Regions from separate parts of the Homo sapiens genome. Here regions 2, 3, 4, 5 and 6 are each linked to region 1. The links are contacts of gene promoters, found by promoter capture Hi-C in blood cells and fetal thymus (Javierre and others, 2016). All regions are on one chromosome and are shown on one strand. The core of a region is centred on a gene start or on the middle of the fragment in contact, and the rest is flanking DNA. Distances in the headings are between cores, read along the strand shown.

The links. The method cuts DNA at HindIII sites, captures the fragments that hold promoters and counts their contacts. A CHiCAGO score of 5 or more calls a contact.
Region 2: a contact is called between a fragment that was not itself captured here and the fragment with the promoter of GGCT in region 1, in 4 of 17 cell types (naive CD4 T cells, non-activated CD4 T cells, activated CD4 T cells and 1 more). The highest score is 6.7, in naive CD4 T cells.
Region 3: a contact is called between a fragment that was not itself captured here and the fragment with the promoter of GGCT in region 1, in 1 of 17 cell types (activated CD4 T cells). The highest score is 5.1, in activated CD4 T cells.
Region 4: a fragment that was not itself captured here is called in contact with the fragment with the promoter of GGCT in region 1 in 7 of 17 cell types (total CD4 T cells, neutrophils, non-activated CD4 T cells and 4 more); the score reaches 8.8 in total CD4 T cells.
Region 5: a contact is called between a fragment that was not itself captured here and the fragment with the promoter of GGCT in region 1, in 1 of 17 cell types (total B cells). The highest score is 6.0, in total B cells.
Region 6: a contact is called between a fragment that was not itself captured here and the fragment with the promoter of GGCT in region 1, in 1 of 17 cell types (naive CD4 T cells). The highest score is 5.8, in naive CD4 T cells.

The regions. Positions count from the first base shown.
Region 1 is chr7:30,501,970-30,506,572 of GRCh38, forward strand. GGCT (gamma-glutamylcyclotransferase) reads right to left here and starts at 2,860. Exons shown (of 4, transcript NM_024051.4): 1 at 2,600-2,860. The coding sequence starts at 2,740. RefSeq lists enhancers at 2,068-2,947, 2,596-2,805, 2,948-3,826, 3,246-3,335 and a silencer at 2,266-2,445. The HindIII fragment of the contact is 6,754 bases long and covers 1-4,603 here.
Region 2 is chr7:30,249,732-30,253,956 of GRCh38, forward strand. All of the region lies in intron 2 of LOC124901607 (a long non-coding RNA gene), which reads left to right. The region is part of intron 3 of LOC105375218 (a long non-coding RNA gene); the gene reads right to left. Among named protein-coding and RNA genes, the nearest start is that of ZNRF2, 33 kb to the right of the region's middle. The HindIII fragment of the contact is 666 bases long and covers 1,277-1,942 here.
Region 3 is chr7:30,361,344-30,366,058 of GRCh38, forward strand. ZNRF2 (zinc and ring finger 2) reads left to right here. Exons shown (of 5, transcript NM_147128.4): 4 at 1,034-1,113; 5 at 4,692-4,715. The coding sequence ends at 1,091. Among named protein-coding and RNA genes, the nearest start is that of LINC01176, 27 kb to the right of the region's middle. The HindIII fragment of the contact is 1,135 bases long and covers 2,511-3,645 here.
Region 4 is chr7:30,266,831-30,271,525 of GRCh38, forward strand. All of the region lies in intron 2 of LOC124901607 (a long non-coding RNA gene), which reads left to right. All of the region lies in intron 1 of LOC105375218 (a long non-coding RNA gene), which reads right to left. Among named protein-coding and RNA genes, the nearest start is that of ZNRF2, 15 kb to the right of the region's middle. The HindIII fragment of the contact is 5,121 bases long and covers 285-4,695 here.
Region 5 is chr7:30,304,013-30,308,662 of GRCh38, forward strand. The region is part of intron 1 of ZNRF2 (zinc and ring finger 2); the gene reads left to right. Among named protein-coding and RNA genes, the nearest start is that of MIR550B1, 16 kb to the left of the region's middle. The HindIII fragment of the contact is 3,784 bases long and covers 1,399-4,650 here.
Region 6 is chr7:30,323,970-30,328,297 of GRCh38, forward strand. The region is part of intron 2 of ZNRF2 (zinc and ring finger 2); the gene reads left to right. Among named protein-coding and RNA genes, the nearest start is that of MIR550B1, 36 kb to the left of the region's middle. The HindIII fragment of the contact is 1,675 bases long and covers 2,027-3,701 here.

The sequences.
Region 1 (4,603 bases), core at 1,610-4,109:
AAATCCAATAAACTATTTTCATTCCTCATCTTGTTCCACTTCTCAGCGGAACATAGGTAACCACCTTCTCCTGATCTGCCTCTTTCCTGATTTTCAGGCTGTTCCTTGATCTCAATCCCCTTTGCCAACTCCTCCTCCATTACCTGATTTTTAAATGTTGGAGTTGCTCAAGGCTCAGTCTAGGCCATGGGTGTCCAACCCTTTGGATGCAAGAACTTTTTTGCTTACCTGTGGTGGCGGACATCACAAAAATTATGCATGGGCCTTTTTTTTGTTTTTGTTTTTGTTTTAGCTCATCAGCTATCATTAGTTTTAGTGTATTTTATGTGTGGCCCAAGACAATTTTTCTTCTTCCAGTGTGGCCCAAGGAAGCCAAAAGGTTGGACACCCATGGTCTAGGCCATTTTCTCTATTCATTTGGCAATTTGCTCAAGACATTCTCATCCCCTCCAATGGCTTCAAATATTCTGATCATCTTTAAACCCAGACCAGATCTCTCTTCTGAGCTTCAGAAGTGCTTAGAACAGGGCCTAGCACACAGTAAGTACTTAATAAATGTTTGCTAATATTATTCTGTTCACTTGACTGTTTAGCAAGCATTTCAAATTCAAAATGTTCAAACTGAACTTAAAATTTTCTCCTCCCAAGCCGGATTTTCCTCTTTTCTCTGCAAACATCACCTGCATCTACCTGGTGCCAAAAACCTGAGTCATCTTTGGTATTCTCTTCACACTCAATCACTATGCTTTAACAATGTTATCTCCAAATTAGTTCTCAAATCCATCCACCCTGCCCTGCCACCACCCTAGTTCAAGATGCCATTCATTATCTTTGGCATAAATTGCTGCAAAAACTTCTTGAACTCTCCACATTCACTCTTCCCTCCTTCAAATCTATTTTCCATGTGACCAGAATGGGCTTTTGGAGATAGAAATCTATCTTTCATGTGCTTTAGTTCTGCAGTGTGTCTTATTTGGCTTCTGTGGTCCTGGAAGATGTGGCCCTTCCACATATCTCCAGTCTTCATGCCACATTCCCCTTACTAAACTCCAGCCACACTGACTGAAAGATCCAGCTTCCTCTTTCTTCAGGTCCTTTGCAGAAGATGCTGTTCCCTGTTTTGTGTGCTCCCCACCTCTACAATCATTCAGGTCTCAACTTAAAAGTCACATTTTCAGGCAGGGCTTTCCTGAGCATCCTGGTTAGGTCAGGTACCCTGGTCATACGCCCCATTGCACTTTGCATGCCTCCTTTTTAAGATGGACCATATACCTGTAACTGAATAATCCCTTGTTTAATATCTCTTCCCCTTGCCCTGACTGTAAGCATTTGGACTCCCTTCCTACAGTTGGGAAATTCCCTACCTTACGAGTTTGGGAATAGGGAGTATCAGAGCCTGACTCCCATTTTTGAGGCTTCAAAGGCCAGAAGCTGGTTCTCTCAGTTTTGCTTAAAATCACGGCATGGGTACGTGGCCAAAACTTAGCCAATCGGGACATTCTGGGGCTTTCAATTAGAAGCTAGTGCCCAAGACAGCAGGGACTCCAGAGAGGCTGACACATTTGGGTTTCAGGAACTGCAGGGATGTACAGAGGCAGGCAGTGTCCAGGGCAGGGGGTGGTGGACAATACAGCATCCACGTTTACCAAGTTCAGCAGTGGCGTGGAAGAGGCTCCGTGGGCTGGTTCTGTTGTGTGATGCCCACTGTATTACAGTTGCTGTGCCTCCCTTTATGCTTGTCCGTTTTGTCAGCTTTGTACTCCTGCCTTCCTGGTCATTCTGTGAGCTCTCCAATAGCCTTTCAACACATTCTTTTTTTTTTTTTTTTTTTTTTTTTTGCTTAAATCAGCCAGTTTCTGTTGCTTGCAACTAAGAACTCACGATGTTAGCAGAGATCATGTTTGTCTCATTCGACGCTGTCAAAAAGGTTTTGAACATAATCTATTGCACCTCTGTCCTACAGACTGAGAGTTCCTCGAAACAGCCACTTTACTCAATCATGTTTATACCCTTAGTGTTAAGTGCCGGAAGAATATGTACTAAATGAATGAATGGACTGGGCTGAAGAGCAATGATTTACCAACACTGGTTATAGTTCATGCAGCCCCTTGACCTAACTGAACACAGCATTATTACAAATAAGACATGGTCCCAGCTTTCAGGACCTCTTAGATGAGGAGCGAAAGGCAGGTAAACGGATTTTCACAATGCCAGGTGAGAAGTGCTGTAACAAAGGTTATGTACAGAACAGAAGGCAACCAATTCCCAGACACGGGTCAGAGAAGACTCTCCAGAAGTACCAACTGTATGCAATCTGTTAAGTTAGTGGACGAGAGGCCAAATCGGTGCAGACCGAGCAGCCGGTGCAAAGGCCAGGAGGGGGAAAGCTCCAGGCAGCCCGAGAGGGCACCGTGGCCCGGGCAGGGCCGGGCAGTGGGCGCAGCGGAGGAGGTGGACCCGCCCAGGAGGCGGAAGCCGCGTCCTAGTACCCTCATCAAGAAGAACTGCATTCCTGGCCCGATCGGCCACGTGTGCCCCCGAGGAAGCGCCTTCTGGGCATCCCGGCCCCGGCGTGGGTAGCGCGGGAGGGGGCACTCACCTGCAGGCGGGCCACACAGAAGAACGCCGCCGAGGGGTTTCGGAGGTGGATCCTCTCTGTCAGCAGGTTGCTGCCGTAGGCAAAGTACAGAAAACTCTCCTCATCTGGACCCGTGACGTCCTTGCAGCCCGAGTTGGCCATATCCCACTACGCCCCTGCACTGGAGCCTGAAGCAGAGTGTAAGGAACGGCCAGAGAGCGCAACACTGGGGCCCACTACCCCGGCGCAGTGACCGCCGCGCGGCAGCCTCAGGGTTAGGGGACTGGCGGGAAGCGTGGGCCGGTCGAGTCAGGAGCGAGCGCTCTCCTGATTGGCTGCCGGTCCCCACCGACCTGAGTCGCCCCCTTTGATTGGCCATCCCCACGGCCTTCCCTCCGCCTTCCGCCGAGACTCAGAAATAGTCTGTCCTGAAGCAATCCGGCGCTGGCTCCTCATTGGACACGACCTACTGATGTCCCGCCCCTCCTTGCTCAAGGCTTCCTCTGATTGAGGGGTGGACAGGCACTCCTCACAGGCGGGTCGGGTCCCATGGACACTGGCTGAAGGTCGTGGCGCGTGACTGGTTTCTTCGCTCTGGGGTGCTTGTGTGTGGTTCTTTGGTACTTTCTGTGCCTTAGGAAGTTCTGGTCAGATCTGAGGCGAAACAGCGGCCCAGGCGACTCCATCAACGGCTCCCTCATCCGGCAGCTCGCCGGGTCCTGCCTTCCTGGCCTAGAGGAGTCGGGCAGGACGGGTCCGTTCACCCTTTCTGCTGGTTCCGGCACCCCCAGCACTGGTCATCAATCTGACCCCTTTCCACGGACCCGTCGCCTGCTGGAGCGGCCCCTCTGAATGCTTGGGACTCCCTTCCCTGTTACATGGAAGTTACATGCCTGGGCTTAAATCCCGACGCTGCCATTTACTAGCCAAGTAACTTTGGGCACCTCTGGTCTCCGTTTCCTCTTTTTAAAAATCGGGATCATAATATAAGTTAGGGTCACAGTAGAAACCCCTATATTGTGTTTTGGTTACCCCCTCCCACACACACACACATCCTGGGTGTATTTTTTAAAACCTATATTGTTAACTTTTGAATGAACATAAGGGCATAGGAACATTGTCTATCCTTGACACCCAGCTATTAATCTCTAAATACCACCCCCCACTAAAAGGTACCAAGTGATCCTTCGAGAAATGACTGATGCCAGGTCAGGAGCTAGGAGTGAATGAGGACAACTTGGAACATCTTGTGTCAGAAGCTCAGGACGCCTCTCAAGACGAACGAGGTCCTTCTAAAAGGACATGGGAACCAGCCTGAAGTTGCCCACTGGCCAAAATTAGAACAATTTGAGAATCAAAAATAACAATGACTGCAAACTGAAAAATGATTGGAAACTTTAAACATAAAAAAGCCATTCCCCCCAAAGAGTAATCCAAATTAAAAAAAAAACTATAACTTCATTTGCCACACTATTGGTGGTGACTATTACACCAACTTTACTCTGCAAAGTGATAATTTAAGAAAACAAACAGGTATTCCGCCTTTCTAGTAGCAGCTGTATTTCGGGGTAACTGAAATACAGCTGATGACGAGCATCAGTTGATGAGGAAACAGTTCTCTTTACAAAAGTATGCCAACTAAGTCATCCTAAATGAATAATGGAATTTTATAATTGATTCATGCCAGGATCATCAGTGATATCATTTGGTGAAAAGGTGATAGGGAACAGGATATTCACTTGATGCCAAATTACTCCCTGAGGATTACTGCTGGTTACAATTTATTTATTTTATTTTTATTTTTTTGAGACAGAGTCTCACTCCGTCGCCCAGGCTGAAGTGCAGTGGTGTGATGTCGGCTCACTGCAAGCTCCGCCTCCCGGGTTCACACCATTCTCCTGCCTCAGCTTCCTGAGTAGCTGGGACTACAGGCACCCGCCACCATGCCTGGCTAATTTTTTGTATTTTTAGTAGAGACGGGGTTTCACCATGTTGGCCAGGATGGTCTTGATCTCCTGACCTCGT
Region 2 (4,225 bases), core at 360-2,859, 250 kb before region 1:
TGAACTCTAATGTGGCAAGGGTGGAGGCAGGTCAGAGCCAATGCAGTGATCTAGGGAAGAGATAATGCTGGCTCGGGCTGGGCAGTGTTGAAGGTAGTAAGAAGTGGTCAGATTCTGTGGGTGTTTTGAATGTAGAGCCACATTGCAAGACTACCAAGTCATTAAATCAACTGAAACCTGGAGTTTCAAAAAACCTAGACTTAAGAAAACCATTTTCATAACAGAGGAACAGAACATAGGATTTCATGCATGGTGACTTAGAATACTGAAAATTAGTGCTAGTTAGGAAAGAACTATACTTAGACCCAACAGAAAGCATGTCAATAAGAAAACTAGAAAACATAATACATTCCTGTTGTTGTTCCTTGTTTCATTAAATTCAATGCATTCACAAAAATAAAGCAAGCCTCACTAACAAAGCCACATCATTTATAACTTTGCCCTTGTGATTGTGCTGTGAGTACATTCCACAGACAGAGTTAACAGTATTTTAAGAACCATTGCTTCTTTGTTTTCCAAGCTGAACCCTGTTTTACTCCATTGGGAAATATAAATAATGGGAGAAAAGGAAGCAAGATAATGCAAGTATTAATTAACCATTCCTGATCCCTATGACTACAGACACTTTGTGATTATAAGAATCCTAAGAAAAATGGCTTTTTTCTTCTAGGCTTCATCTATTAGATGCTAATGTGGAGAACAAAGTGGCCAGATGAACTTGATTAGCATCACTCTAAAGGAAGATGAGTTGTACCTAGGCAGTTGTCGTGGGCTTGGTGTTTTTTACCTTCTCTATATAGCACAGGAAGTGTTTTGCTGCTAAGACTCGGTGGATCATCATTTGTTCTTTTATCATGGGTGGGTGTGGGCAGAAGATGAGCATCAACAATATTTACTGCTTGACTCCTATGTGCCAGCACTCTGCTACTGTCTCATTCTCCTTTGTACACCCAGTTTATAGTCTTTTAATTCAGCCTGACAGTGTTCTTTATTGAGGTGCACACCATCATTAATGTTCACAGCTGAATGAAGATCTGGCTTTCTAAACAGCTACAGGATTGATGGTTTTATATTAAGGGAGCATTCTCCTCAATGGAGCTGACTTTTAAAAGTGGACTCTGGCATTGGATTAAGTTCTGAGTATTAGGAGATCACTTAGAAGGTCTGTACCTTCCTGCTTGCCTGGTGGCTAATTGTGCAGCCATTATCAGATTCCTGATTAAGAAAGTATATGATGAAAGTTTCCTATGAGGAAACTACTGTGGATAAAGGCCTAAGCTTAGCCTCTTCAAAATACGATTAAATATTAGGTTGGTACAAAAGTAATTGTGGTTTTTGCCTAATAGTTGAGGCATTCTTATTAATCAGGATCACTATTTCTGGAAGTTCTAGCCACTAATAGGCAAGAGAATGAAATAAGTATACCACATTATAATTATTTGTGAGAATTATTAAAAATAATAAAAGTTCAATCAGAAGCCACTGCTAGAAATCACATTACATGTCTTTGAGAGAAAGCCCAGGCACAATCACTGCTGTCTGGGCAGAGCCTCAGAAATCAACTTGCTCACTTAAGGCAAAGGAACATTTACTATTATACTGAACTTTGTCTACACTCAAAAATGGGATCAGAAGAAAGGGAAAGGTTTGTGAACCTCAAGTCCAAGAATAAAAATAGAGGGCTGAAAATGAAAACTCTTATTTTTTAGCTGTCTCAAAAGGAAGCCAGACATTACAGACCAAGGACCACTACTATAAAAGCCTTGGATATAAAGTCAAATTTCTCACATTTTAAAACTCTATGCTATTGCTTCCTTCCTCTCCTCCTCCTCCTCCTCCTGCTGAGTGAAGAGCATAGGCCCTAAATCAGGCCACTTGGTCCAGATTTCCCTTCTACCACTTACTAGTTGTGTGACCATGGAGATGTTACCTGGCCTCTCTAAGCTTCAGTTCCCCTGTCTGTAAACTGGAGATAAGAATAGGACTTATCTCCTAGAGGTACATTTGGAAGAAAGAAAGAACTACTACAAAACACACACACACATACACACACACACACACACACACACACACACACACAGAGTCAGTGCTTCAGGAGCAATGACAATGGGGGATCTTTGTCATAGCCTACTGCCAGGTTTGAGAAACCCCAAGGGATACAGTAGATGGTACAGTGATGGAGGTTGTCACTAGGCTGGATGGGGGGAAACAATTGAAAGAATGTACTCGAAGCTCAGTTTGGAGGTCCAGCATAGGAGAATGGCTGGGGGAGGCAGGAACAACAGCCTAACTCATTTAAAGAATAGTAGAATCAAATATATCCCTCACAGCTTCCAGCGCATGATCTTTATAAATGTGTCTGAATCCAGGAAGATTGCTTCATAGCAAGACACACTTTCCCCCGTTGCCATGGAAACAGCACTGTTCTCATGTGTCAGGAGCGCATGCAGACACACACACACGCACACACGCACGCACACACTGTATGTTAATACATTCTGGTGTTCTTTATACTTCTAAAAGGACATGTTCAGAGCCAGAATTTTACTAATTCCTATCATCCACTTGTTATCTATTATCTGTGTTGTTATGATGTTAAAAATACTGATTTTAGGTTTTTCTTCAATATAATCTCTCCTAGAAGTGAAATAATTCATTATTTGCCCCTTCACCTAGCTCCAATTTTTCTCCCACCCCTTAAACGAACATACTGTAGATCTCAATGCCTATAGTTTATTAATGTTTTAGAAACCTGTTTCAGATCCTAGTCAATTTCTTTGATGGGTAGAATGATGCATTTTGTGTACTTCATGTTCTTAAATATTCTCCATCTAAAATATTGTTTTTACACTGGTAAAATGGCAATTTCTGGGAAGAATGTTGATGAATCACAAGTTTGTATGAGTGTGGGACTATAGTGGTCTGGTTCAGTCTTCAATCTGTATACACTTTAAAAGAAACTAAAGGAAACTGATATGGAGAAATATATTATTTTGACAAGTGTTTCTTGGGCATCTACTATCTCCATATATGACCCAGTTGCCCCTGAGAGCTAATTCCAACTACATGGAGATGCTCACGATCAATGATGAGATGGCATGGTGCATGAGAGTCAGGGAACAGTCTTCAAAGCTCAACACAACCAGCTGTGGCTTTCACTTCACTTGAATTAGGTCATAGAGTCATAACCTGTAAAATGAGCAACTTGGACTAGACTACCTCCCTGGTCAGCTTCAAGACGCCACGGCTATACTTCCATTTCAGAACCAGGCCCCATGGAGTGTGTGGTTGCTTAGACAGCCTCAGTAAGTCCCCGTCTAGGAAGTGACTCAGCCATGTCAGTGTGGGGCTCACACCCCAACAGGCTTCCCACTCCTTGCTGCACCAGTCTTCACCCCAGACCTAGGCCCTCTGGGTGGGGTGGAGCTCCTTCCCAGTGTTCCCTCCCTTCTCCTTCTGCCCACCTCAGATCTACCCTTTGTCACTTGCCTACTGAGACCAGCCAACTTGAGGCAATCATTCCTGCCAAGTTAGCCAGTGGCTGCATATATCATACTCAAGGCAACATTCTTATGGTAAAAATTTACTTTCTGCAGATACCAACCCTGGTAAAGTCTCCAATTTATTTCCTACAACAACTAACCTTCTCACATTCTTTGTTTCAGCCTCAAGGGCAGTTCCTGGAATTCACCAGGCTCTTCACTGCCCTCAGCCTTGGCCTCTAGCCAATGCTGCTGCCACTGCCCAGAAATCTTCTCCTCCACTCAGCACTCTGTTAACTCCTTTCCGCCCTTCAGCAACAGCTTCCAAGTCTCTTTCCCCAACTGAGCCCTCTGCTATTCTCTTTTCCGTCATAGATCTTAGCAGAAAGTACAAACATCTCCCTCAGTAGATGACAGATTTCATGAAGGCACTGTGCCACCGTACACCTGGTACCTGCCTGGTACACAGCAGGGGCTCAGGTTAATAACCGTTGGTTAAATACATGGATGAACAAATGAATGAAAGCACTGTCTTAACCCAAAGATGAGACAGATGGTAGGAATTGCAGGCCCTGGCACATGTCGATGGGGGAAAGAGACATTTTTGAGCAGGTGAAACTTGTCTCTTATCTCTACCTGCAGTGCTCACCTGACTCCTGAAGGACAGACACTAGCAGCAGAAAATATCATCACTCCCAAATGTAGCTTGTCCTATAACTGTTTGTCAACAATAAGGCTTTGAC
Region 3 (4,715 bases), core at 1,828-4,327, 140 kb before region 1:
ACCTTTTTTCTTTTTAGTTTCATCTTATCACTTTTACCTACCAAACCAACCTATCTGGACATGAGGATGATAAATGTTAATTTTGCCCTTCAGTATATTAACCAAGTCTTGTAGCTTTGCGGCATATGCAAATTTGAAATATGTCACCAATGAAAATGTTGAACAGGTTGAATCCTGCTTGGATAACTTGCTAGCTGTTAGGCAAGTAATAGCTAGTTAGTAGACCTTGATTTTTTCACCTATCATGGTACTGTGAAATAGAACTTTCTACCATAATGGAAATGTTCTATATCTATGCTGTCCCCTAGAGTAGTCGTGAGCCATGTTGCTGTTGAGTGCTTGAAATGTGGCTAGTGTGACTGAGGAACTGGATTTTTTTATTTTATTTCAATAAATCTTAAATAACCAGTGTGTGGCTCTTGTCTACTCTGTTGGACAGTGCAGATCCACAATGACGATGATCATATGCACCCTAATATTTAGCTTCTAATAAAATAAGATCATAAAATACTTCCTAAATACAAATGATTAATGTATATTTATTTGTGTATGTATATGTATTACATGGTGGGATAGGATTTAAATATTCAATAATCACATATAAATATAGCTTTAAAAATGAAATATTGGCAAGGATTAAAATTTAAAAGCCGTTTTTTAATACATTTATAGGTGACATGAACAGGTTGATAATGTGCATAAATGAATAACTGTTTTGAAAAGAAAAATTATGCAAATTTGTTATTCAGTTTTGAATATTGGTAAAGTGGTAGTTCAGATTATCTTTTGGAAGTAGTTCTGTTTGAACTTTAAAGTACTTTATAGCATAATTTTGCAAAGGTTTTTTTCTTAATCGCTTAGAATCAAAATATAATAAACATTCTTATCTGTTGCTTATGTATGCCAAATATAATTTAAAATGCTCATTTTTTTCTGTAAAAAATATATTAAAGTCAAGTATTTTTACTGTGGCTCTCATTATATAAATAATTAGTATAAGTATCTCAATTTTTCTGGTTTTGTTCCTTTCTAGCTGCATAGATGAATGGTTTGAAGTAAATAGATCTTGCCCTGAGCACCCTTCAGATTAAGCGTCAGCTTCCTGTTTTATAGGTAATTTTTTTTGTAATTACTTTTTAAAGCGTTAGCCCAAATTATACATTCTAAACTATAATTTTTATTTATTCATTTACTCATTGAGGTGCATGAGTGTGTATGTGTATGTTTCAGACACTTAGGCTACTGCATAGAAAACTTACATTAAAAATATTGTATAATTCTAATTGTTGGCTGGGTATGCTGGCTCGCGCCTGTAATCCCAGCACTTTGGGAGGCCTCAGGCAGGTGGATCACTTGAGGCCAAAAGTTCAAGACCAGCCTGGCCAACATGGTGAAACTCTGTCTCTACTAAAAATACAAAAATTAGCCAGGCTTGGTGGTGCACACCTGTAATCCGAGCTACTCGGGAGGCTGAGGTACAAGAATCACTTGAGGCTGGGCATGGTGGCTCACACCTGTAATCCCAGCACTTTGGGAAGCCGAGGCGGGCGGGTCACGAGGTCAGGAGATTGAGACCATCCCTGGCTAACACGGTGAAACCCCGTCTCTACTGAAAATACAAAAAAAAATTAGCCAGGCCTGGTGGCGGGTGCCTGTAGTCCCAGCTGCTTGGGAGGCTGAGGCAGGAGAATGGTGTGAACCCAGGAGGTGGAGTTGGCGGTGAGCTGAGATCGTGCCACTGCACTCTAGCCTGGGCGACAGAGCGAGTCTCCTTCTCAAAAAAAACAAAAAACAAAAGAGAATCACTTGAACCCAGGAAGTGGAGGTTGCAGTGAGCCGAGATCATGCCACTGCACTCCAGCCTGGGTGACAGAGCAAGACTGTCTCAAAAACAACCAAACCAAAAAATAATAATTCTAATCATTTAGTATTATCATGTGCCAGGTGTTGTTGTAAGCATTTTACATCTATTAGTAACTTGTCTAATTGTTACAATAACCGTTTTGAGCTCAGTACCATTACTGTTCCTATTACGCAGATGAAGAAATTAAGTATAGAGAGGTTAAGAAACTTGACTTTTCAAGTTCAGATAACTAGTTTGTTGGTGGGGATGAAATTTGAACCCAGGTATTCTGGTTCCAAAGACTGTTCTTAGCAATTTTGCTCTTTTTAGGTAGGAACATTTTCTTCAAACAGTCGCATCATAAATTTATTCATTCAATTTAATCATTCACTTTTATATCTTTAGCATGTAATACAGTGCCTGTCTATATAGTAGGCAAAAAATAAAGTTGCATTTTACGACTGAAAAAAAAACTAGTTTTGTTCTACTGATTTAAGTTTTTCATGGTTCTGCATTATCTGAAAATGTTTAGTGAATTGAATGCTGACCTCAATTGGGTATTTTCATAGGGCTTTTTTTTTTCACATTTCACAAGTGCATTAAATTGACATCATTTAGCTTTGAAAAAATAAAGGTTAACTTAATTGCTATCTTCAAATATATGAAAAGCTTTTATGAAAAGACTTGGAGAGATGATATAAAGCATTGGATTGTTATATCAAGGCAGAGCATTTTAGCTAATCCTAGAATTGTTTCAGGAGTGAGAGTCTCTTTGTTCAGGGACTCAAGACAGTAACAGCCGGCTTTTCTAGGAGGCTGAGACTGATGGCAAGGAACTAGACCAGATGACGTCCAGAGGTCTAGTCCTGTGTGGTACCATTTCCTTTTATTTCAATAACTTCTCTTAAATTTGAGAATAAAAGTGTTGAGGTAATAAACACCCTCAAGGAATTCTGTTGCTGTATTGGTGGAAGATGATTTAAGAGTAGCAGATTAGAATATTGACAGAGAAGATTTGAGATAATAGCAGCAATAGCACCTGAAATGAGAACTGCAGTTGAGTGTCATAAGACTACGCATGTGCATGTGAAATGTGGAAGCCTTGGTAGACTGCAGAGTACTAAAAGACTGCCAATTTTAACCTTTCCTGTGAACTTACTTAGATCATGCCTTGACACATTTAAAATATGAATTGAGGCTGAACACTAATTGCTTGAGATAAGGAGTTTGAGGCTGCAGTGAGCTATGAACACACCAGTGCACTCCTGCCTGGGTGACTTAGCAAGTCCCTGTCTAAATAAATAAATAAATAAAATGTGAATGGAAGTAAGAATGCTAGGTAAGAGAAGTATAGTGGTGGAGTGGTATTTTGAATATATGTGCACATATGTTTTTATTTCACCATAGAAAAGGTTTGGAATGCCTTCATTGTCACCTTATGTTTGAGACAAAACGAAACTGTGGCTAAAATTATAGAAGCATTTTAAGGGAAGTACTGAAACTGATGCTAACAAAATGAAATTTTTGTCTTAGTATTTTACATGCCAAAGTAATACATCTAAATCCTTCATCTATAGATAAAATTTGTCTTTTTAGTCTTTCTTAGTGCATTTTGGGCTGCTATAACAAAATACCTTAGATGAGTAATTTATACATGACAGAAATTTAGTGCTCACAGTTCTGGAAGCTGGGAAGTCTAAGATCAAGGTTCCAGCCAGTAGATCTGGTGTCTGATGAGGGCTCATTGCTCATTTATGGCACCTTCTGTGTGTCCTCACGTGGTGGGATAACAGACTCCCTCAAGCTTCTATAAGGATACTAACTGCATTCATGTGGTCAGAGCCCTCATCACCTAATCATGTCCCAAAGGCCCCACCTCTTAATACTATAGCACTGCAGATTAGGTTTTAACATAGCAATTTTGGGAGTACACAAACATTTAGACCATAGAGCTGATAAGCTTTTTTTTTTTTTTTTTTTTTTTTTGGTGAGGTGGAATTATATTGTATAAATTTTTTTTCTTTCATCAGCTAAATTTTTCCTTTAGTGTCACAGTGAGCTTATGGGATATGTGGAGCATACATCTCATCTCATAGCTGAAATGCATATGTCTGTTGGTCTTCAACAACATTTCCATTTTCTTATGTTACATATGAGTGTTATATTTGCTTATTTGTTTGTTTTCGAATATAGAACCTGAATTTGAAACTAGCCTACTACATGGGCAGGGTGAACTCTGTTAATCAGGTGTCTACAGAAATCTGAACCAATGGAGTCTGCTTCTGTGGGTCTTGAAGAGTCATTTTTAAGAGTTTATAGACATGGAATATCTTGACTTGTACATTTTTGCTTCTGTCCTGACTGTTCTTATTTATCAAGTGATAAATTCTTGTATACCTTTTAATAGTCCTAGATTAAAGGTATATGGGTTTGAGGAGGATTCAGTGTTGTTAAAACATTTTGTAAGGCACTGTGTAGCCATAAAGCTCAACGTTTCTGATATCCTTCAGCATAAGAATTTAATAATCAACCCAAAATAGAGAGACATGAATATTTGTGGTCTTGATTAGTTAGAAAATTGCTGTACTTATTTTGGGGTTTTTAGTTATTTGGGAGAAATATTTTAAATCTCCGTGTGTGTGCATTCTTTACTTGCGTGTAGTCCTTATTGTGAAAGGGGGATGACTTTGTTATGTATTTTTTGTGACTAAACTTTAATTGATCCTTCTGTTTCTTAATCTGTTCTTCTCCAGATCACTGATTTTATGAGTTTTCAGAATAGTAAGTAAGGGTATGAAGACTTACAGTAACTAAAGCAATGTTCATGGGGAAATCTATTTTTACACAGGTTTTCTTGTCTTGACAAGATGCT
Region 4 (4,695 bases), core at 1,595-4,094, 240 kb before region 1:
AAATGTTTTGAATAAATGTCCCCAGGGAAAAGGGTTTTTGCACCGGGTGATCTTCAGATCAAGTAAATCTGCAATTAAAGTCTTGCAATTAAAGTCTTCCTGGGAACTCCCAGAGAGGGCAAATCCTGACAGATCTGTGGGAATGAGGTTTTGAAGGAACTCTAATACTACTGTGCCTCCTCCAGTGGCTGCCAGGCTATTGGCTTTCACTGTGATTGTGGGCTGTTGATTTTCAAGGCTACCACAGAGCTGGAGGAGGTGGGTGATGGGAACAGGGCAAGTTAAGCTTGCTGCACTTACTGAGATTCAACCATTTTTCTGGAATAAACACTCCCTGGATTGCTGCAAGCCTTGGGTTAATTTACAGAGTTCTGAAAAAGTTGAGTCTCATTATTTTTGCTGGTTTTCTCACTGCTTTCCTAGAGGAGAGAAGTTTTGGAGATACTTACATTTTTGCCAACAATATCCCAATGAAGTGTTAATGGGGAAAGAGAGTGAGTTGTGTGAGAAAGCAGTGCTGGAGTTACTGTTAGAGGTGGAGTCGTTTCAAGTGATGACAGGGCCCAGGGTAAGGCCAGGGGAATGGACACCTGGAATGGAGTGCAAGCGAAGGTCACTGCTGCGGGAGGGGGCAGGCAATGGATGTTCAGGCCAGACTGATGGGAGGGTGTCCACATGGAGGCTGAAATCCTCCAGGACCAGGATACTATTTGAGGGGAGAAGGAGACTGAACCAGGTGTCTAAGTCCTCCCTGACTGCAGGAGTGACCTGAGATTGATGGATGATGGCAGTGTCAGTGCTGGGAAATGAATGTTGTCACATGCATAGCCAGTATGGAAAACAGTGGCAGAGATATTCTGAAGACTGAAGAGGACCAGTACATTTTAAAAGAGAATTATGATATGTAAATAGATATCTTATACCAAGAAGGGAGAATTGTTGTCAAATTAACTAATGTGGTCTACCAATAGGGAGGATTGTTGTCAATTAAATGAATATGGCCTACCAGTAGAAAAACTTTAGTGCCAACAAACTATTTTTACTTATCTCTCCATGCATCAGGAGGTGAAGGTAAGAACTGCAGCCCTCGATAGATGCATCTTCTTGTCGTTCACCCTCTGTCTTCATTCTTGTTCATCTTTTTTTTTCTTTTGAGACAGGGTCTCATTCTGTTGCCCAAGCTGGAGTGCAGTGGCATGATCTCGGCTCACTGCAGCCTTGATCTCCACAGTTCAAGTGATCCTCCCACCTCAGCCTCCTGAGTAGCTAGGATTACAGGTGTGTACCACCATGCCTGACTAATTTTTTTTTTTTTTTTTTTTTTACATTTTGTAGAGACAGGGTCTCACTACATTGCCAGACTGGTCCCAAACTCCTGGGCTTAAGTGATCCTCCCATCTCGGCCTTCCAAAATGCTGGGGTTACAGGTGTGAGCCACCACACCCAGCCTCTCTTCATTCTTTAAGGGAGTCTCCTTTCTCTGAGTTTATATTACCTGTTTTATCTCTGAGTTTACATCACGTTAGGGACCACAAGTCCCTGTTGCTGGAGATGACCCACCATGAGGATCAGATTGGTGACCTGCATATCTTTAGGCCAAGGTTAGTGAAGGACTAGAGAATCCCGGAGAGCCACACACTGCCTTTATTTTTGGAAAGCCATATTTTCTGCAGGCTCTGAGGGTACTGATTTAGTCATCTTTGGTCTTACACACAGAATCATGAGTATTCATTATGTAAAATTCTTTTAATCAATCTTTTCACAATGTATAATAGCTGTGATCATCAAATTCTAAGCTATAGCAGCCTACAACAGCAATGTGTAAAAAGCTCTATACACTGAAATGTCCTAACTGGGCCGTCGCCAAGTTATGTCTGAATACAAACCAAGACATCAAGATTTGGGGCTGGAAAACTCACTCTCAGTGTAATTTCTTAAAGCCATCATCACTTGGATTCAACTCTCATGACTGTGAAAAGCACTTCAAGTTCAGCTCTCAAGACTATGAAAGCAGAACCCAGGGGACCCGCGGTGGATTCAGCTGCCTTTTCTCTAATTTTCCAACCACGTGTTCACACAAGACGTAGCAGTAAACAGCATGAGGAAAATCAAGCAGGGAAACCTTGCCTCCCCATCAAGTTGCTATAACTCCCTCTCCTGCCTGTCACTATTAACCTCTGGAAAGAGTGGCCTGTAATTGCTATCTAGTACTCATTCCCATGCAGTCTGCAACATGCAGTGGCCTGTCTTCCATCTCCACCACTCAAAAAAGATCAACACTGATGGATGCTGTGCTCAAGAATGATGCCAATCTTCACCATTCCCTACCTGTTTGCTACTTTTGACATCGTTGAATGAATGACCTTCATCCCAAAAACTTTCCCCTTCTTTCACCCTCTGGGATACCTCTCCTCTATTTTTCCTCCTACAACTCTGACTCCACCTCTTCCTTCCCTGGCTCCTCTTCCTCCACCAGCTCCTTGCCATTTCCTCTAAGTCCATCCTAGGTTTCATATTGTCTCCCTCTTTACCATCTCTCCTTCAGTATTTGGAGCAACTTCCACCTAGTATCCTAACGACCTAATCTACATGTTCAATCCACACCTGTGAGCTCTACGCCTCCTGTTCTAATTGCCTACTGGATGCTGACATACATATTTAGCAAATATCTCCAGCTCAACATGCCTCAAATTATACAAACTGTTTCCCTAAAACCTGTTTCTCTTCTTGTCTTCCCAGCCCCATGGCACCCAGGCTGGAAGTGCAGAGTCATCATTAGCTATTCTCTCTCTCTGTCTGTCTCCAAGTTCAGTCTGTCTTATTTCTTACAAAACCAATCGTCTATCTCTCTCCTCTTCATTCCCACTGCCTTCCTAGCTGTCTCCTTGACGGCAGGAACTTCCTCTTTTTTCCAATCCACATTGCTGCCAGAATTCCCTCTACAATAAACAAATTTGATGAGTGTTAGTCCTTAGAGGTTTCCCAAAGCTAGGTGACTGTATGCCTCTGTTGGCCTGGAACAGTGCTGTTTTCTGCTGAGTGTTTGGTTATTCTATCTGGGTAGCATGCCCATTAACTCTCAAAAGTGGCGCATTTGGATGATGAATTATGTGATCAGCCTATCACAGAGTGACAGGTTAAAATCCAAACTCTTTCACCTGGCATACAATCTGTCCCCAAGCTAACTTTCTAGTGCCATCTTCTTCCATCCTGTTTAATTGCCATTCCCCAAACACGCCAGCCTGTTTCCCAGCTCACTGTCATTGTTCGTGCTGTTCTCTCTTCCTGAACACCTTTCCCCCATTTGCCACTTCTCAAATCCTCCTTAACCTTCACTGCCCAGCCAAGGTAGCACCTCTTATGTGAAACAGCATATCCTGTCTGCCCCATTCCCATCTGTCAAGAGCCTCCTCTCCATCCCCTGCTCCCCAGTGATCCTGTAGTGATTTGTTCAACTCTCTGTCACGTATTCTACTTTGAATCTGGTACAATACCTGGCACATTGCAGGTCCTCAAAACATTTTGAAGGAGAGGCTTTCAAGAGGCAGGAAGCCAGGAGGTTTTTTTTTTTTTTCTTTTTTTCCCGGCTGTCTCTGATTAGAATTAAACGCTTTTATTTTCGATATGGGACTTGCTTGAGAAAATCCAACATATCAGAGCCAAATCTATTTCTTCATCTGTAGAGTAATAAGGAGAATAATTGCTGCTGCCAAAAGCTACCCATGTGAACTCAATAAGGTAATAAAAACAAGCCCTGCTGTTGAAGTAGAACGTATTGAAATAGAGAGTGAGATGAGCCTCCCATCCTCTGTCATCTATCCCTACAATCTGCAGCCTGTGTGGTGTGGGGGGCAGGAGAAGATTCTGAGAACTGGCAACTGGTTAAATAGAAAATGTACCTATGGGAGGGAACAATGATTTATCCCAATACAAATGAAACTAATTTGAGGAATAACCACTTATTGAGCATGCACATGGATCGAACATTGTGCTAAGAATTTTACATATAGTTTCTTTATCTTTCCAATCTTATAAGGAGATTGATGGATATTATGATTCCCCATTTTACAGTGCAGGAAACTGGAGCTCAGAGAGGTTAAGCAACTTGCTGATATAGTTTGGCTCTGTGTTCCCACCCAAATCTCATGTTGAATTGTGATCCCCAATGTTGGGGGAGAGACCTGGTGAGAGGTGATTGGATCATGGGGGTGGATTTCCTCCTTGCTTTTCTCACAATAGCGAGTGAGTTCTCACAAGATCTGGTTGTTTGAAAGTGCGTAGCACTTCCCCCTTTGCTCTCTCTTCCTCCTGCTCCTACCACATAAGACTTGCTGGCTTCCACTTCGCCTTCTGCCATGATTGTAGGTTTCCTGAGGCCTTCCCAGACATGCCTCCTGTATAGCTTGCAGAGCTGTGAGTCAATTAACCGTCCTTTTTATAAATTACTCAGTCTCAGGTAGTTCTTTACAGCAGTGTGAGAATGGACTAATACACTTACCAACAGCACAAAGCTAGTAAGTGGTGGAATTGGGATACGTAATAATAATGCTAATAACTCACACATGCGTACCACGGTGTCCGTGGTGTTCTGCTCAGTTCTCACACCCACCCTATGTATTATATTATGTTATATCTCCATCATCAGATGAAGGCAACTTTAAATAACTAGCCCAAGGTCACATCACTAGGAAGAAA
Region 5 (4,650 bases), core at 2,041-4,540, 200 kb before region 1:
TAAAGTTGCCTGGGTAGTGGTGGTAAGGAGAGTAATATTATTTTACTCTCCTTACTAATAATATTAGTTTACCTTCGCAGTGAAGTCATAACCCTTTGAGGGTATCCTAGCTGAAGGCAAAAGCCAACTGCTGCTGTTCACTTTATCTCTCTGGGTTTCCAGTCTCCTCTCCTTTTCTGGCCTAAGCAGCTATAGCTTCTTGCCAGCTCATTCATGTTTTTTAAGATTAAAAAAAATGCTGGATTTTGAGTTGTTTTAATTAGGATGGCAGGTCCAAGTACTTATTCCACTATATTCCAGGACTAGCATTCCCTATTATTACATTTAATGGATTTTGCCAGATTGCTTTCTAGGGAAATGCAAACTGAAGTAGTAATGTGATAGCACTTTATGCCTGTCAGACTGGCAGAAAATAAAGTAGTAACATACTGTTGCAAGTGATATGGCTTGTAAATGATATTAGTGTAAATGCAAATTATTTTGGTCTTTTAGGAAACTTAAAAATGCTTGTGAGGCAAAAACCATTGTGATGTTGAGGGAATAGGTGGAGGAAAGTATATTTGCAGCAGGTGCAACTAGCCATTGCTTCATTTTTCTGTGATAAAACTACCGAAAAGTATGAATGGGTGTTACCAGTCTATTATGTTTAGGGCCATGGGTTGGGTCTTGTTTGAACAGCAAGGATAGGTGGACTTAAGGGATATTCATCATATAGACTTAGGGTAAATCATTGAGAGAGCTGATTGATGAAAATAGCATGACTTGCTTCCTCATTAACCCACCAAAAAGTTATAGGAAAATGAGGGAAATAAAGGACTAGGGTGAGTTAAAAAGGGAGCTCTGTGCCCCTGGTGTGCTGGAACTAGCTCTTCCTGGAGTTGATAAATTATTAGGACTTCGGCAAGCCAGATGTTAAATATAACCATCATTAAAATTAAATTATATAAATTGCATTTAAATTATATTTAAAACAAAGGAAATACTCAAAACTTATGTCCTAGTTTTATTATATTTTACTGTTATCTGTGTTCTTGAGGTTATTGACACCTGTTGTATCTGTGTGGTGGAAATTCTGTCAGTGTGCAGTTGCACATCTCTTTCCTATTCTGTGTTCAATGATACCACTTTGGTGACTTGAAATAGGACAGACTATTTATACCATGGAAATCAGCAACTAGTACAAATCAGGATTTTTTTCCCCTGGAGAACAGTTGTTAAATATCTACCCGAATACCACTGGGTATAAAGTTTTGCTGTTTGAGATACTGATTGTCTTTCATCATTGTAAATGTACTTATTTTCTGAAGCTTCGAGCATTCTAATCTTACGTAAAGTTTTATTGTTCTTAGGAAAATAGGTAACTATACTAGTTTTACTCATGTTTTAAAAGATATCTTAAGCTTCAAGGGAGATATGGCTTATTTTATTTAGCTTTTATTTTCATGTAGATAGTATTTTTGTAAGTTTGTTCTCCTTGTTTTTTAAAACATTGTCATTTAAAAAGTATACTTAAAAAACCTTTATAACAAATAACCACCCAGAATTTATCTTTCTTGTAAGCCATTAGTTTCATTTCTTGAACTCATTTTAGCAAGGAGTACACTTTTTCAGTTTTTAATGTGGACATGTTTTTGTGTGTATGATTTAATTCTTATAGCAGTGTTGTAGATGAGGTTGACCAGTTACCAGCAATAAATATTGTTTCTCTAGTATTTTTAGTTAGGGCTAACATTTGATTTCTTGTAAGATTAAAGTGTCATATTTCCTACTTGTTTGTTTAGTTTATCCTCTGGTACTTTAGTAAATCAGTGAATTGGGAAATTTTTCATAAGACTTGTGATTCTTATTACATTCATCTGTCATACATGTTTCTAGCACTTATGGCAATGAAATTAAGATTGAAACATTGAAAACATTATTCTGGGTATCTTATTTATTACTGTTTGTATAGTGTAGTGGTTTTGATTTTTGGATCTGTAGCTGGGCCTTTGGGGCTTTGGCCCAGTCATCTAAACTCTCTAAGCCGCTCTTTCCTCAATATTAAAGTAATAATAATAATAGTAGCTACTTCATATAGTGGTTTTAAAGATTAGATGAGATAATGTAGCATTTAGCAAAGTGTTTGGCTTAAAGTGCTCTGCAAATGTGAGCTAACACTCTTACTATCAAAATAATAAATTCTCCTATCTGCAAGTTGCCTTAAATGGCGGGTATAAAGCTAGTAGTAAGTAAAGCATTACATAAAATACTTAAAATAATGAAAGCTATTGAAACAAAGTCAGGAAGAATAAAATTCAGTCTTTTATGGCTTATTATCAAAATAATAAATTCTCCTATCTGCAAGTTGCCTTAAATGGTGGGTATGAAAGCTAGAAGTAAGTAAAGCATTACATAAAATACTTAAAATAATAAAAGCTGTTGAAACAAAGTCAGGAAGAATAAAATTCCATCTTTTATGGCAAATGAGCAAGCTACAATAAGCAGCGTCACTGTTCATTTGTTTAGGATAATGGTTAGGTATCAACCATACCAGCAAATGATAAAACCACCTATTCCAGTCACTGAAATACTAAACCACTGCTTTAGTTGTGTACATACATTATGGATAAACATAGATAATTTTCCTAAAACACTGGATAATCCAATTGCTGTGAAATAGAATTTAGGTAATAAAGGGATTCTTGGTTCCTTTAGTAGTTTAAGTTGCACATTGACTTGCCTGTCGACCGTACTTAAAATTACAGACTTTCTTTGCCTTCCCAAGTCCACTTTTTGAAATAGCTGTTAAGTAGCTCAGTGTCCAAATAATAAGTAAAACAGGAATACGAGGCAGAAGGGAGCATTGATCACCCACCTCTCAATACTACTAGAAAGTTGGCTGCCTAATCTCTCATTATTTTGTATTTATTTGCTATTTTATTCTGGGTGCATAGATTTAATATTATGTTGACACTTTTTATCCTTAGTATTGATTGGGTTTTCCCTCTTTTTTCTACTCTGCTACCTCTATCCCTTCTGGAACCAGTAGTTTAATGGTAAGTATTTAAATAAGATTTACAAAGTTTTTGACCTAGTGAGGATTTTTTTACCCTCACCTATCTTGGTGAAAACTTTGTAGACTTCAGACGGTCTCTGTGGTTTCCCAGGTTTTCATTGTTGCCTTGTTTGTGTGTAGACTGATAAAACTTTAGTTCTGAGGTTCTCCTGTCCTTGCATGCTGTGTCAAATGGCATCCATTGTTTGTGTGTTTCATAGTGATGTTTTTCTTGGAGCTTGCATTCTCTTTTTTGTCTTCTTTCTGCTGTTTTTTTTTGTTTTTTTTTTTTTTTTTTTTTTTTGGCTGGGGGTGGAGGGGTATTGGAGTGGGAAGGAGAAAAGTCTTTCTCACATCTGTACTACTTTTATTTTCTATATGGCATTTGGAATCCTCCCAAATTTTGCCAGGTAGATCTCTGTAAGATGTTTGTTCTGTGTACATTAAAAGCATAATAACTAGTATCTTTGGGAAGAATTATAGACTGAGTCCAAGTCCATTGAATGATACTGTTTTTATTGACCCTTAATTCTGCTAAATTTGCTATCAAATTCTGTGTTGTTATTTCTTGTTTCACATTTCAAGATATTTGAGCCTTTCAAGTGTTTTTTAAAGGTATAAATATATTAGGATTTTTCATAGCAATAACCGTTAACCTGTTGCCTCAAGACTTTGTATTTTGATTTAATGAAATTTTTATTTACCACCGAGCATAATGTTTCACTCTTAAACTTAGATTGTGAAATATAATTTAACTGATTAAAAGAATGAGGCCAGATTTAGTGTGTTAAAACTTATAGTAGACTTTGGAAAGCCACTTTCATAAAATTTTACCATCAAAGAAAATGTCTTTAAAATTTTTGTGTGTGAAATATAAATAAGAAAAATGCAGAAAATGGAAGAGTAGAGTTAGAAAATGAATACCAATGCACCTGTCATCCATGTGCAGTAGAACAGTGCCAACACTCCAGAAATCCTCCCCTTTGTTTTCCTGATAATGAAGCCCTTTTTTCCTCTTAGAATAATCATAATCCGTACATTTGTAATCATTTCTTTGCCATTCTTTGTTTTATAATTTATATATACATTTGTAAAGAATATGTTTAATTTTGCCAGCTTGATATAAATGGAATCATACTCTTTTTTGGGTCTTGCTGCTTTTATGTTTGTAAGATTCATTTATACTGTGTGTAGTTCATCATTCTGTAGTTTAAAGTTTATCATTTTTCATTCTGTAAATACACCAGAATTTTTTCAACCATTCCATTGTTGGGTGTTTGTTTCCATTTTGCCATTATGAACATTGCTACTGTGAATTTTTTGTTAATATGTATTCTGGTGCATATGTGCACAGATTTCTTTAGGACAGTATTACTTAAAATATGGTCCTTGAACGAGCACCATTGGTGGTGTCATCTGTGTGAGCTTGGGAGAAATGCAAATCTGTGGGCTCCACCCTCAATCAGAATCTCTGGGGATGGGGTCTAGGAAACCGAAACAAGCTCTCCACATGAATGACTCTTAAGGACATTAAAATTTGAGAACCACTGCTCTGGGATATATACCTAGAAGTGGAATTGCTGAGTCATAGGTTATGTATACCTTCAGCTTAATAG
Region 6 (4,328 bases), core at 1,614-4,113, 180 kb before region 1:
GTCATAAATTAAAACAGAATTTATAATTTTTAATTTATTTTGTTAAACATAAATATAATTATGTTGACAACTTTTAAATGAAAAGTAAATTTTCTAAGACAAAATATTTAGTGACAAGAGTGGCATTTTCAGGATTTTTACAAACTCTTTAATATCAGGCTTCATGACAAGGAATTCTCACATCTGCTTCTTCATTCAGTTTATTGTGATATGGCACGTCTTGTGTCCTCTGGAAAACTCTGCTGCTATACTGGAGAGAATGGGAATGAAAAAGGCAGATATGGCCAGGCACAGTGGCTCACACCTGTAATCCCAGCACTTTGGGAGGCCGAGGTAGGCAGATCACCTGAGATCCCAAGTTTGAGACCAGCCTGGCCAACATGGTGAAACCCCATCTCTACTAAAAGAAAAAAAAAAAGAAAAAAAAAAATTAGCTGGGTGTGGTGGTGCACACCTGAAATCCTAGCTACTCGGGAGGCTGAGGCAGGAGAATCGCTTGAACCCAGGAGGCGAAAGTTGTAGTGAGCCGAGATTGTGCCACTGCACTCCAGCCTTGGAGACAGAGTGAGACTCTGTCTCAAAAAAAAAAAGAAAAAAAAACAAAAACAAACAAACAAAAAAACAGATACTTAGTGTTACCATGAAAATAGTTTTTACTTTGTTAATCTAAAAGGATTTCAAAGGCTCTTCCACTTCTCCTACTGTACAAGATTCTTTGGACCACAGTTTGAGAACTGCTGCATTGAAATAAAATCTTTTGGGTTAAGCCTAAGTAAAATGTAATGTTCATAATGGCCATTTTCAAAAGTAAGTAAGCATGGTTGAAATTGCAACTTTTTTCTTTTTGTTTAAGAGTATAGAGTAAATGAAGGGAACATATATGAGGAGTAGGGAGAATAAAAGTTTATTCAATAGTAAATAGATGCCTAATGGGAGAAAAAAGTCATTAAGAGAAACCCAAAACTCTACCTATGCAGTGCATATGTGTCTCTGTCTTTCCTCCCATATACAAATTTAGTCTGTGAGCTCTGGAGCGAACTGGTATTTTTTTAGGTCTGGTGTTTTAGACTGTACCATTCTTTCCTGACCAAAATCTCTAGATATTCCAAAACCTAGGAAAGATTTTAAATGTAGCCTTGGCATACTTTGGAATAGACTTGGGGGGGAAAAATCAAGTAGTTCTGTCCTAACCAATGAATAGAATAAAATGAAGGAAAAATGAAAGTTGTTTTCAAAATTTTATAAAGAAACAGACTTCAAAAGCTTAAGAGAAATTTCATTTTTTTTAAATATAAATTTTGGCCTGAAATAAAATGTGTAGAAAGGGTACCAGTAAACACTATAGCCAATTGAAAGATTGGCTAAATTCAACATATATTTTGAGCATCAATTATGTGCGAGGTACTGTGTTAGGAATTAGAGATATAGCAGTGAATGAACAGAAATGGAGCTTACAGCCTACTAATAGTAATAGTCACTGATTTCTTTGAGCTAAGAATTATTGGTTAAATAAAAAGGTTCTATGAAAAACTTAGTAGATATAGCAGCACTTATCTGAGCTTTCTCCTCAGGTAACAAAAATGTTGGGAGGGGTAGAATTTAACATTGAAATGAGCATATTACTTTTGGTAGTGTTTTGCAAGTTGATCTAAGAATCAGTCTCTCAATTCTTCCCTTTCCTTCACTTTTTCTAGTATGGTGGTGCTTCAGCCACCCTATTACAGGGTTGACAATAGAGCACTTTTTGCCATTCATTTGCTGATGAAATGTGAAAGTGGTTTTAAGCAGTTACTTGGCATAATAAATGTATTTGTTGATTATATCCTAACCTTTTTGCATTATGAAATTGAATTGGCTACTTTGCATTATCTACTTCAAGTTTAGTTATTTAAGAAATAGAAAGTGTTCTCATTCAAAATTTGTGACTAAAAGTATATGGGTTTGTTTTTCATACCTGCTCCACTATCTTATATTCTATAATTGTTTATGTTTAATATGAGTGCCTTTAAATATCCATAAATCTTAAAGCTTCTGGCTTTCAATTTGAAAATCACAAATATATTTGACCATATAATAATATATTTACACACAGTCTTAGTATTCTGTATGTTTACTTTTTGTGTAATATATCTAGAATACAGTCTTCTTGTGTATTGTGATATTTAACAATTTTTTTAACTTTTAAGTTGAGGGGTACATGTGCAGGTTTGTTATATAGGTAAACTTGTGTCATGGGGGTTTGTTCTACAGATATTTTGTTACTCAGGTATTAAGCCTAGTACTCATTAGTTATTTTTTCTGATCCTCTCCTTCCTCCTACTCTCCACCCTCTGGTAGGCTCCAATGTGTATTGTTCCCCTCTTTGTGTCCATGTGCTCTCATCATTTAGCTCCCACTTACAAGTGAGAACGTGCGGAATTTGCTTTTCTGTTCCTGTGTGAGTTTGCTGAGGATAATGGCCTCCAGCTCCATCCATGTTTCCACAGAGGACATGATCTTCTTTTTTATGGCTGTGTAGTATTCACACGGTATATATGGACCCACATTTTCTTTATCCAGTCTATCATTTGATGGGCATTTAGGTTGATTCCATGTCTTTGCTCTTGTGAACAGTGCTGCAGTGAACATATGCATGCATGTGTCTTATAACACAAGGATTTATATTCCTTTAGGTGTATACCCAGTAGTGGGATTGATGGGTCAAATGGTATTTCTGTTTTTAGGTCTTTGAGGAATTGCCATACTGTCTTCCACAATGGTTGAACTAATTTACACTCCCACCAACAGTGTGTTAAGTGTTCCTTTTTCTCTGCAGCCTCTCCAACATGTATTTTTTTTTGACTTTTTAATAATACGCATTCTGACGCTTGAAATGGTATCTCCTTGTGGTTTTGATTTGCATTTCTCTAATGATCAGTGATGTTGAGCTTTTTTTCATATGATTCTTGGCCACATTTATGTCTTCTTTTGAAAAGTGTTCATCTCCTTTGCACATTTTTTCATGGGGTTGTTTGCTTTTTTCTTGTAAATTTGTTTAAGTTCCTTATATATGCTGGATATTAAACCTTTGTCAGATGCTTCGTTTGCAAAAATTTTCTCCCATTCTGTAGGTTGTCTGTTCACTTTGTTGATAGTTTCCTTTGCTGTGCAGAAGCTCTTTAGTTTAATTAGATCCCATTTGTCAATTTTTGGTTTTGTTGCAATTGCTTTTGGTGCCTTTGTCATGAAATCTTTGCCTGTTCTTATGTCTATAATGGTATTGCATAAGTTGTCTTCCAGGGTTTTTATAGTTTTGGATTTTACATTTAAGTCTTTAATTCATCTGGACTTAATTTTTGTATGTGGTTTAAGGAGGTTGGCGTGGGGTAGGGGTCCAGTTTCAATCTTCTGCATATGGCTAGCTAGTTATCCCAGCACCATTTATTGAATAGGGAATCCTTTCCCCATTGCTTGTTTTTGGTCAGGTTTGGATATTTGACAGTTCTTAATTTCCTGATTTAACTATGCCTAAGTCATTAAACTGTTCTGCTAGATCACTTGTTTGGTGTCTTAAGAACTAATATATAACCTTCTGCTTGGGGATACTATAACAACCAAATATTTCGAATTTTAAATATTTAACAGTATTTCAATCTAGAAATTAATAAATTTCATGCAATAAGTAAATAAACTTGTAGGCATTCTTAAAGTTGCTGACTGAAAGCTTTAAAAAATAAAAATATATATATTTTTGTTTTTAGAGTCAGGATCTTGCTGTGTTGCCCGGGCTGGAGCTCAGTGGCTATCTATAGGCACAGTCATGGCACACGACAGCCTCAAACTCCTGGGCACAAGTGATCCTCCTACCTCAGCCTCCTAAGTAGCTAGGACTACAGGTGCATGCCACCATGCCTGGCTTTTATTTTTTATTTTGTAGAGATAAAAAATTCAAAGTATGTATTAATTGTATAAACATTCACAGCAAGAAGCAAATACAGCTTCTTAATAAAAACCGTGTATAGTTTTTGAGGTTTTAAAACTAGCTCTTGGACAGTGGCCAGTTATGAGTAAGTGAAGGAGAAAGGAGCTTTGCCTGGACTGATTTGGAGGGTTACAGAGAGGTGGCAGGTTAATAATGTACTTTCCTATCATAGGCAAGGGGAATTCTAATGCCACCTGGTTTTAAAGTCAGACCCCCCCCAAAATGTCTGTCACAGGTGATGAGTCCAAATGGAAATTGGCTCCTTTAATACCTCATAAGCAAACCATCTAGGATTATTATAAAGTAGAACAAGGTAAAGCCAGAGAATCTCTAAAACTGAATCTTTTTAGTCAACTGGATTCCTCAC